Regions from separate parts of the Homo sapiens genome. Here all the other regions are linked to region 3. The links are contacts of gene promoters, found by promoter capture Hi-C in blood cells and fetal thymus (Javierre and others, 2016). All regions are on one chromosome and are shown on one strand. Each heading gives the region's core, a stretch centred on a gene start or on the middle of the fragment in contact. The rest is flanking DNA. Distances are from core to core; before and after follow the strand shown. Region 1 overlaps DCAF6 (DDB1 and CUL4 associated factor 6). Region 2 overlaps ADCY10 (adenylate cyclase 10). Region 3 holds the start of ADCY10 (adenylate cyclase 10).

Region 1 (3,116 bases), core at 374-2,873, 82 kb before region 3:
AAGATCTGTGTGACTTGCTTTAATGCAATATTTACTTTATTGCAATGGTCTAGAACCAAACCTGCAATATCTCCAAGAGAAGCCTGTATATCTGGGAGGAGAAGTATGGCTCATATAATAACTCTAATTTTTTGAGGGTTCCAATTTCTCTACATGTTTGTCAAAACTTGTTATTGTCTGTCTTTTTTATTTTAGTCATCCTAGTGGGTATGAAGTGATATCTCACTGTGGTTGTGATCTGCATTTCCCTGAGGACTAATAACGTTGAGTATCTCCTTATGTACTTATTGCCATTTCTATTATATGTCTTCTCTGGGGAAAAAAAAGTATTATATATTCAAATCCTTTACCTATTTTTAAGTTTGGATATTTGTCTTTTTATTGTTGCACTGTAAGTGTTCCTTATACATTCTGGATACTAAACTGTAACCAGACACATGATCTGCAAAACATTTTCTCCCATCCTGTGGGTCACTCTTTTTATTTTTATTTATTTTTTAAAAACAGCATTCATTGATTTTTTTTTCCTGAAAATTAAACAGGTTTTGATAAAAACTTGGTGACACTTAACAGTGAATTTTCTGATTTCTTCTGGAAACCATACCTAGTAACATGAATAGAAAAAAATCTTTGCATCCTGAGCAAAGGAGACAGAAAAAAAAATCCCCATAAATTCCATATTATGTGTAAGTATGGCTAAAGGCAACTGAGAATAGTAAAATCTACACAGGAAGACGTAAGTGTGTGACAGGGAATAACCAGAACAAAGCTTAATGTGGCAGCTGTGCAAATTCTCAAACAACTAATCACTCCCAAAAGGAGAGGGCTTCATCCTTCATACGAACTATTCTTAAAACAATATAATAGAATCTTGCTTCATGGTTTCAACAGAGAGGAATTTTTATATTACATAGCCAAAGAACTGGTTTTACAACCTCAGCAATTATTTATAGAATAAAATCTTCAAATTAAAAACAATCTCAAATTTGACTTTCTGAGTATGTGAAATAACCTAGGCAAGAATACTGAAAATGGCGTTTCATTCACCAAATATTTTTTGAGCACCTTTTATATGTCAGGTACTATTACAGGTATTGGAAAACAACAATGGACAAAACACACAAAAAATCCCCAATGTCACAGAATTTACAGCCCGATGGAGCAAACAACACATGAAATGAAAAAGCAAAATATACATAGAAAGTTACTGTTATGGAGAGAAATAAAGTAGAAAAGGGGATAGGTAGTATCAGTTAAAGGCCGTGATTTTAAATAGGATGGTGAAGTAGGGCTTCACCAAGAAGGTTACATAAGCAAAGACCTGAAATACACAGGGAAGAAAAAATCCAGGTATCCAGGGAAGAGCATTTCAGGCAGAGTAAATGCAAAATCCTAAAATAGAGTCATGCTTGGCCTGAGTTACTAAGCAAGTAGATGTGGTTAGAGCACAGTAAAGAAGAAAACAGTAGAAGTAATAATTAGGACCAGATAATATAAGATCTTGAAGCCACCATAAGGACTTCAGTTTTGCTTTAGGTCCGACAGGGAGCCACTTAGAATGTTGATGAGAAGAGCGGCATGATTTAACTTATGTTTCTAAGGATCACTTTGAATGCTGTATAGCTATAGGGCTGTAGGAAGTGAAAGCAGGAAGACTGGTTAGAAAGCTAGCAAAATCAACTACAAAGGGGGATAGGTCATGCCAGAGATGCTGATAGCTCGGATCAGGGTGGTAATGCAGCAAGGGTGGTGGTAAGCAGTAGTCAGATCTGGAGTATATTTTTAGGCACAAGCTATGGGGACCAGAAGAAAATGAAAGAATGAATTCAACAAAGAAGCCCAATAATGGGGTAGGGCAGGTGGTAAACTGTCAAAAAGAAGAAAAGAGAGATGATAAAAAGAAAAAAGGATAGAAAAATAAGGGAAAACAGAAAGTACAAAAAAAATTAAGACAAAAGAATGAACCAAAGAAAGAAGGGGGAAAAAAATGAAAGAAATTATTAGAGGCGGTAAGGAAATAGAAAGGCCTCCACAAATTGAGAAAATACAAAAATATTATGGAAACATAAGACAAAATCATACAACAAACTTTTACTCATGCTTTAAAACCTTCCTCAGGCTTTACTCAAGATTAATTATTCCCTACTTTGTTCTACTTATACAGAACATAGTCCTTATACATAATTCTATATTAAGTTTTACATATTTATTTACTTGTACCTCTACTTCCACTAAGCTGTGAATTCCTTAAGTAAGAGATCATGTCTTTGTCTGGTCATCCTTCATTTTCCAAAGTTAAGTAGAGGACTTGGTGTATAGTAGGCACCCAATAAATATTTGGTGAGTTAAGTTTGTCTGAATACTATCATCAAAGTTTCAGTATAAAACACCAAAATGTGTCAGAATTACAAATAAGACAGATTATTAATTTATTCTATGTATACCTCTGAATTGTTTGGTTTGTTATAATAAGCTTTTTTTTTTTTTTTCTGAGACTGAGTTTTGCTCTTGTCACCCAGGCTGGAGTGCAATGGCGTGATCTCGGCTCATGCAACCTCCTTCTCTTGGGTTCAAGCAATTCTCCTGCCTCAACCTCCCAAGTAGCTGGGATTACAGGCGCCTGCCACCAAGCCCAGCTAATTTTTGTATTTTCAGTAGAGAAAGGGTTTCACCATGTTGGCCAGGTTGGTCTTGAACTCCTGACCTCAGGTGATCCACTCGCCTCGACCTCCCAAAGTGCTAGGATTACAGGCGTAAGCCACTACGCCCGGCCAACAAGCATAATTTAAATCCACTTTCAGCATTGTTTTTCTTAATTTAGTTAATGCAACAAACAAGACCAAGGAAAAGTCTCCCAGAAAAAAAAATGTTCATGACTCAGCCTCATTCACTCTGATTATATAAATATCTTTTGGCTAAGTATTCCATGGTATCAAAACTAGTTGGCCCACTTAAAATGTCTATGGACTTCCAACTCTTTCATTATGTAACAATCACAGTTTGACTATAACTTTACTTACCCATGTATTTCAAGGGGAAATTTGCATAGCAGTAACAAAATGACAGAGCAGATTTCATGTTTTTAACCAGAATAAACTCAAAAATCATTTTATTAG
Region 2 (3,304 bases), core at 753-3,252, 70 kb after region 3:
GAAACAGAATGATCCCTCATTTGAGGTGCACTATCGTTCCTTGTCTCTGAAGCCCAGTGAAGGGATGGGTGAGTAGCACCTGGAGTGACCCAATTTCCTCTTAAGGACCCATCTAGATCAAAGAATTGACCTATGTTAGGTAGAAGGGGCTGATCTGTTGCCCACTGCCTGGCTGAAAAACCCTTTTTGCTCTCTCCAGATCACGGTGAAGAGGAACAGCTTCGTGAACTGGAGAATGAGGTGATCGAGTGCCACAGGATTCGATTCTGTAACCCTATGATGCAGAAAACAGCCTACGAGCTGTGGCTCAAGGACCAGAGAAAAGCCATGCACTTGAAATGTGCCCGCTTTTTAGAAGAAGATGCCCACAGATGTGACCACTGCCGAGGCAGGGACTTCATTCCCTATCATCACTTCACAGTGAATATTCGGCTCAACGCTTTAGACATGGATGCCATTAAAAAGATGGCTATGTCTCATGGATTTAAAAGTAACCTACTTCATTTTAAAATTATCCTAACTGTTCTTGGGAAATCTAGAGACTAAGATCTAGAAGGAGTGGGTGTGGATCTTGAGGGCTTCAAGTCTCATAAGCGGCTTGGGCACAAAGAATGATGAGACTTCAGCAGCCTAGGCCAATGGGGAAGAGAAAAGTAAGGGAATGTACCTGTATTGAGTCTAGCGAACCAATCTCACTATAACTGTCAGGGAGGGTTTGGGGATAGGGGCTCTGGCAAAATGGGATGTGACCAGAACTCAAACTAAAATATCCCACTTAATTCACACCAAAGGATGGAATCCAAAGGGGGGTACAATCTGACATGATGACATGGTGTTTCTTGGCAGATAAGAATATTATTGCTTTGTTGGTCTAGTTTGAAACAGGTTCCAGTGGGTAAAGAACATGACTGAGAGAGAATTAGCCAGGGCTAAGCAGGTCAGGGCTCCAGAAAACAGGGCTTGGTTTCAGGGCAAGAATTCAAGACCATCGGAGAAGCAAAAGTTAAAAAGTTACAAGCCAATAATACCAACCAGCCATGTGATCTGAGAAAACATAGCAGAGGATTCAGGGGGTGTAAGGACCCAAAGACTCAGTCACTATGGGCATGATGGGTGTCAGACACAGAGCAACACCACCAATTCTAGCCCCCATTCATGGTGGCCAGGGAGCTCCTAATGGGCTGCCTACTCTAGTCAGAGGACCTTGGTGATTATGGCTAAATCTGGTTGGGAAATCAGAGGCTACAAGTAGAGGACTCCTATATTATAAGGATATTAAAAATCAGGAAGAAATGTATCTAAACTGCCTAGTACATAGCAGGTGCAAAATAAACTTTTTTTTCTCATTCGTTCTCCATTTCATGTGCCTTCTCAGTGGATCCTCATATTAACCCTTTAAGGTTGATGAGGGTTGTTTTCATTGTATAGATTTTTTAAATTGTGGTTCTGGAAGCTTAAGTAACTTACCCAATACCACAGAATGAGTGACAGGCTTTATTCAATCTGCCATCAGTCTAATTCCTAAGTTCATCCTCTGCTCATTATACCTGAGCTCCCCCAAATGTGGGGTTGGATTTTAGGTAATACTTGCCAGAAGATAGGAAGTTCGTAGACACAGCATGAAGTAGAAATCAAGAGAATGAGAAAGTTGCAGCTTTGCACAGTGGGACGAGCATGTTGTTGAAACTGCACTAACACTAGTCCATCTCCCTTTTTGGAAAACAGGAATCAGGCTGTAGGTTCAGAGCCTTAGGATCTGGACCATGAAGATTTTTAGTCCTCTGAGAGCTTGAGTACAAAGAGGATAAGACTTCAGCAATAGTCTCATCTGCACTGGGCAGGGAAGATGTCAGGGGAATGTACACCTACCTGAGTCTAGTTCTATTACTAGCATTTATTAAATTCTCTCTTGTTTGTTATATTTTTACAAAATTGGTAATATTATTATCACAAAAGTGGTATGTGTGTAATATTATGTTGAAATTGAAATTTGTGCCAGAGCACCAAGATACAACTAATGCTGCAATTCAAACTGAGGCAGTGGATATACAGAATTACAAAAGAAATAGCTGAGAATCAATTATAATCTTGGATCCTTCGCCCAGACCTAAGACATAGAAATGAGGAAGAGGATGTAGAGGGTCAGGATTTGTGAAGAGATCTCTTTGGTGAGAACTGATGAGGTGCTGTGTGCCCTCCTCAAGTGGGTTGTTTACTTCATCACCTCAAGCCTGGTGAGGTGTCTTCCTTAGAATCAGAGGACATAGAACACTGGGGCCTGCCTCATGCCTAAGAAGGCTGAAGTGGCCTGTGGCTGCATTGGGATCAAGCTGCCATCCCAGACTGTGGGAAAGGATGTGTGAGGGTTTCTCATGGATCAGATAAAACCCACCTGGGAGAAACAGCCAGTCTGGAACCATTTTAAGTTCTTCCCAGGGTGCCCTTGGGAGGGTAACAAGACCCTTGGGTGTGGACTGCTAGAATGAGACAGGGATAAGGGGGACAGACTGGAGCACCGAGAAGATGCGCTGCCTGAATTAAGGAAGCTTTAGTGAAGGATCCCACACAGGGCCCTATTCAAAGAACCAATGAAAGTATCAGTAGGAGATGAAATGATGGAAAGAGATGAGGGAAAGGGGAAAGAAGAATATTTGACTGTGCGGGGTCAGTGAGTCATACATATACACACACACATACACATGTACACACACATACATATACATAGATGCATTTTTTGGTAGATTGATGTTTTATTTTGGGGGATAAAATAAGCTAAAATACACTGACAGCTAGAATATAGGTCAGTTTGAGCAGCTGGCCTTGAGCAGGTTGACTAGTGTCATCAAAGCAAACAATTTCAGTTATTTGCAGATTTTCCAATCAACTGGCAGTTCAGCTCTGGAACATATATGACCAAATGTCTCTGAATAATGTCTGCTGGTATCCCTTCCATCAGCACCTCCACCTGAGTGAGGCCACAGCTCTACTATTTCTCTTATCAGAATTTTTCACCTGTTCAGAAGGCTATCGACTCGACAAACTTTAGAGACTTTGTAAATTCCCTAAATGTCGTATCACAAAACAGTAATCCCATGGCCGACCGTCCCACACACCTTCAGTAATTCCAGTCAGGGGCAAACATTTTTAATTTAGCTGTTCTTTCTAGTCATTACCTCCATATACTAAATGGTATATTAACATTGCTTTTACTGATTTTTAAGAAAATCAAATTCTGACATCTGTTTTCTGGCTATGGCAGATGAGGATTTAACTCTGTTACACCACTCCTCGGCCCCTCTCCCCT
Region 3 (3,124 bases), core at 45-2,544:
TTCTTTAAGTACTTTAAAGGAAGTTTTAATTTTACTACAAAAAGGATATACTGTGTTAACCTATTTGCACGGTTTCTGAACTAATAACTTTATAGCAGAAAAGAAGCTGCTTGGGGTAGAGGAGTAGTAGGTGGGGTGGAGAATGCTCAATAAGAGATAAATTCTTTAGTCTTTTTTTGTGGTATGGCATCTCTTTTAAGGAAACTTTGATCCAAGGTATGTCAGTGCTGCTGTTTCCTCATAGTAAATATTTTCTTTTTTAACTTATAAAATCATAGCGAAAGGTTGAATGTTAATGAGGATGGACCTCAAAGCTAAGGTTCCTTTCTGTAAAACAAAGGTCTCTACTGGAGCCTGTTTATATAATGAAGCAGAAATAGAAAACACTGGCATTTATTAAGAATAGCTCTCCCTAAGGGGATTGTTTAATTAAATGAGGTATGATTCTAATTATAAGACTGGTTTCCACAACTCACACCAGAAAATTCACTCAATGAACATAATTAAATGACCCTCTTGTTTTCCTCCCTAAGACAACTGTGTTTTACAACATTTGGAAGTACACAGTAAACAATTACAGAGCGGGGCTTTATAGGAGAACATGTACAGCTTTTTAAATAAGACTTTTTAAATTCCAATTTTAAAAGCTGTGCCCCTAAATGATAATTGTGGTTGTGATGATATACATAAGAACATTTAGAAAATCAACACATGATTTAAGCTGTTAGAAAACACACCAGCCTCTTAAAATACATTTTTCCAGTGTCACATCAGATAAAGAAAACTCAAATCCAGTGCCCATTGGATTTCAAGTTATCTTTGGGATAAATTTGATTAAAAGCGTGCACTTGACCAGTCAGAAAGGGCAGGTATATAATTCTTCAAACAAAAATTTACCTCACAAATATATCTGAAGGTAAGTATTGAATTTATTATAACTGGTAAATTTCATAGTCCTGGTACAAGCTGTAACCACTATTGACTAAAATTAGGTGTTTGCTTGCTCTGGAGATACTTCTGATGATCACCTACCAACTATTGCCTAATTTCAACCATCCTCCACATGGCCAAGGGAAGAATTGTGTAAACTACTCTGGGGTCATGTCAGTCTCCCCTGACCCTTGCCTCAAATGTGCGGATAAGAGAACCTGAAACAGCCAGTCCTTCCTTGTACAGTAGTAGGCCACTCAGGTTGGTGGGGGAGGGGACGGCAGTGCCACCCAATCAGAAACATGGTCGGTGCCCGTGGAACAATGAGCTACTGATGAGGGTGTGGCCTGGAAAACGGCTTTTAGACAAAACTGTCATTTTATGGGTCAGCTATAGACAGACATGGCGCTTCAGCTGTCTTCAGAATAATGTCACCCGGCCTCCTCTCCTGTCTTCTGCAGTCTTAAAAGACCTAGTCCCTAACTGAGGTCTGGCTTTTCCTCAGCCCTGGATGAAGTGGAGGTATGTGGAAGTAAGAGTCTCAGCAGAAAGATTGATTGCAGAGCTGAAGATGAGGGCGACCGTCAGGAAAGAAGACAGCTATTGCAGAGGAGTGGGAAGCCTGGGGCTAGAAGTCAGGGTTCAAGTTTGTGTATACCTCTGTGTCAGTCCCTTACATGAGCTTAGAAGCTTGAAGGCTTAAATATTGCCTCACCTTCTCAACCTGGATGCTCTGTCTTTCTAGCTTACTTTCTTTATTTGCCTCTTTTCTGCAGTTTCTCACGTGATATCCTCCTTTTTATCAGTCAACAACTACCAAGTGCCTACCTCTTGAAGGGGGCTCTGGCAAGGTGCTGTGGAGTAAACAAAGATATGTAGAAGATGGTTCCAAACGGGGAGCTTACAATTCAGATGAAGACAAAATAGAAGCAATTCAAAAGATAATCAAGGATATTTGTATGGGAAATAAGCCACTTAAGTGTAGACATTAAGAGCCACAATAGCTCAGAAGAAAAATTACCATGGCTAGAGTAGGCAAGCAAGCTTTCATGACAGGTAACACTGTGCCTTTAAGTTCAGAGTATCTCCCTCTTTGGACTCGTGAAACCTGACTTTACATGTAGGTGAAAAGTTGAATATAAAATCTATTAGGAAATTCTAGAGGAGAGATTTAGAGAAACTGATGAATATAATCGAACCCTAATTTCTCTTTTCATTTTTGGGTACTACTGAGTTTTCTTTACTCACACTCCGCATTCAGGAATCCTTCTTGGTTTATCTTTCGGGCCTCATTCGCCTGCTTGCCTTTTGACTCAGGTATCCTCATTTCTCATTCCAAGGTGCTTCCGCGCTTTGTCAGTACCCATGCTGTTCATGCTGTATTCTTGATGTGATAGAATTGGCTGAACAGTTGATAAGGGTACCATCAACATGCATTGAAAGTGCTCTTAAATTAAACCTACATCTTTTGTCTAGGTCATATACATCCCCAAAGTGCTATAAAGCGTATACAAATGGGATATAGCATGATATAGTAGAAACAACAGGGACTTTCAAGTCCCACAGACCTGGATATTCCAGCTTTATAACCCAGAGCAAGTTAATACCTCTGTGCTTCAGTTTTCATATCTATAGAAATCAGGTCTACTTCATAGCGCTGTTTGGATGATTAAATGAGGCAACCTATGTAGAATTGATACGGCTCCGATGAGTGGAGGAACACCAAGGTTCTTAGTCCTCATCCCGGTTTAGATAAAACGACACAGACACATGTGGAGTGATTTTAAGGATCGGAGAGTTTAATAGGCAAGAAGGAAGAGGAAAGAGGGAAGAAGCTCCCCCATACAGAGACAGAGGGAGGGGGGCTCCAAAGCCGAGAGAGGGAACCCCCAGTGGGGTGGACGTCAGCTAGGTATATATTACAGACGCTGGAGGAGGCAGTGTCTGATTTGCATAGGGTTCAGGGGATTGGTTTGACCAGGCATGTCATTCACAAAGCCCTTGAAAAAGCTAGCCCTCTCACCCTAGCCTTTTAATATGCAAATGCAGGGTGCCATGATGTTCTACACACGTGGGAGTATGTGGAGGTGGCCATGTTGCCAGGAACATGTGGGGCAAGGGAAAGAAGGCCTCCGGAATCGCCATGTTGGGTGGGCCCTGTTTCTAATGGCCTTCATTTGCTTATCAAAGGTTG

What was found. The method cuts DNA at HindIII sites, captures the fragments that hold promoters and counts their contacts. A CHiCAGO score of 5 or more calls a contact.
Region 1: a fragment that was not itself captured here is called in contact with the fragment with the promoter of ADCY10 in region 3 in 1 of 17 cell types (erythroblasts); the score reaches 5.3 in erythroblasts.
Region 2: a contact is called between a fragment that was not itself captured here and the fragment with the promoter of ADCY10 in region 3, in 1 of 17 cell types (erythroblasts). The highest score is 5.8, in erythroblasts.

Annotation. Positions count from the first base shown.
Region 1 is chr1:167,995,055-167,998,170 of GRCh38, reverse strand. All of the region lies in intron 7 of DCAF6 (DDB1 and CUL4 associated factor 6), which reads right to left. Among named protein-coding and RNA genes, the nearest start is that of MIR1255B2, 2.0 kb to the left of the region's middle. RefSeq lists an enhancer at 1,712-1,771. The HindIII fragment of the contact is 1,704 bases long and covers 772-2,475 here.
Region 2 is chr1:167,842,749-167,846,052 of GRCh38, reverse strand. It overlaps ADCY10 (adenylate cyclase 10), which reads left to right. Exons shown (of 33, transcript NM_018417.6): 20 at 1-68; 21 at 200-490. Among named protein-coding and RNA genes, the nearest start is that of ADCY10, 70 kb to the left of the region's middle. The HindIII fragment of the contact is 1,093 bases long and covers 1,456-2,548 here.
Region 3 is chr1:167,912,304-167,915,427 of GRCh38, reverse strand. It overlaps ADCY10 (adenylate cyclase 10), which reads left to right and starts at 1,294. Exons shown (of 33, transcript NM_018417.6): 1 at 1,294-1,452. It also overlaps a transcript of DCAF6 not described here. RefSeq lists enhancers at 913-1,589, 1,590-2,266. The HindIII fragment of the contact is 13,833 bases long and covers 1-1,622 here.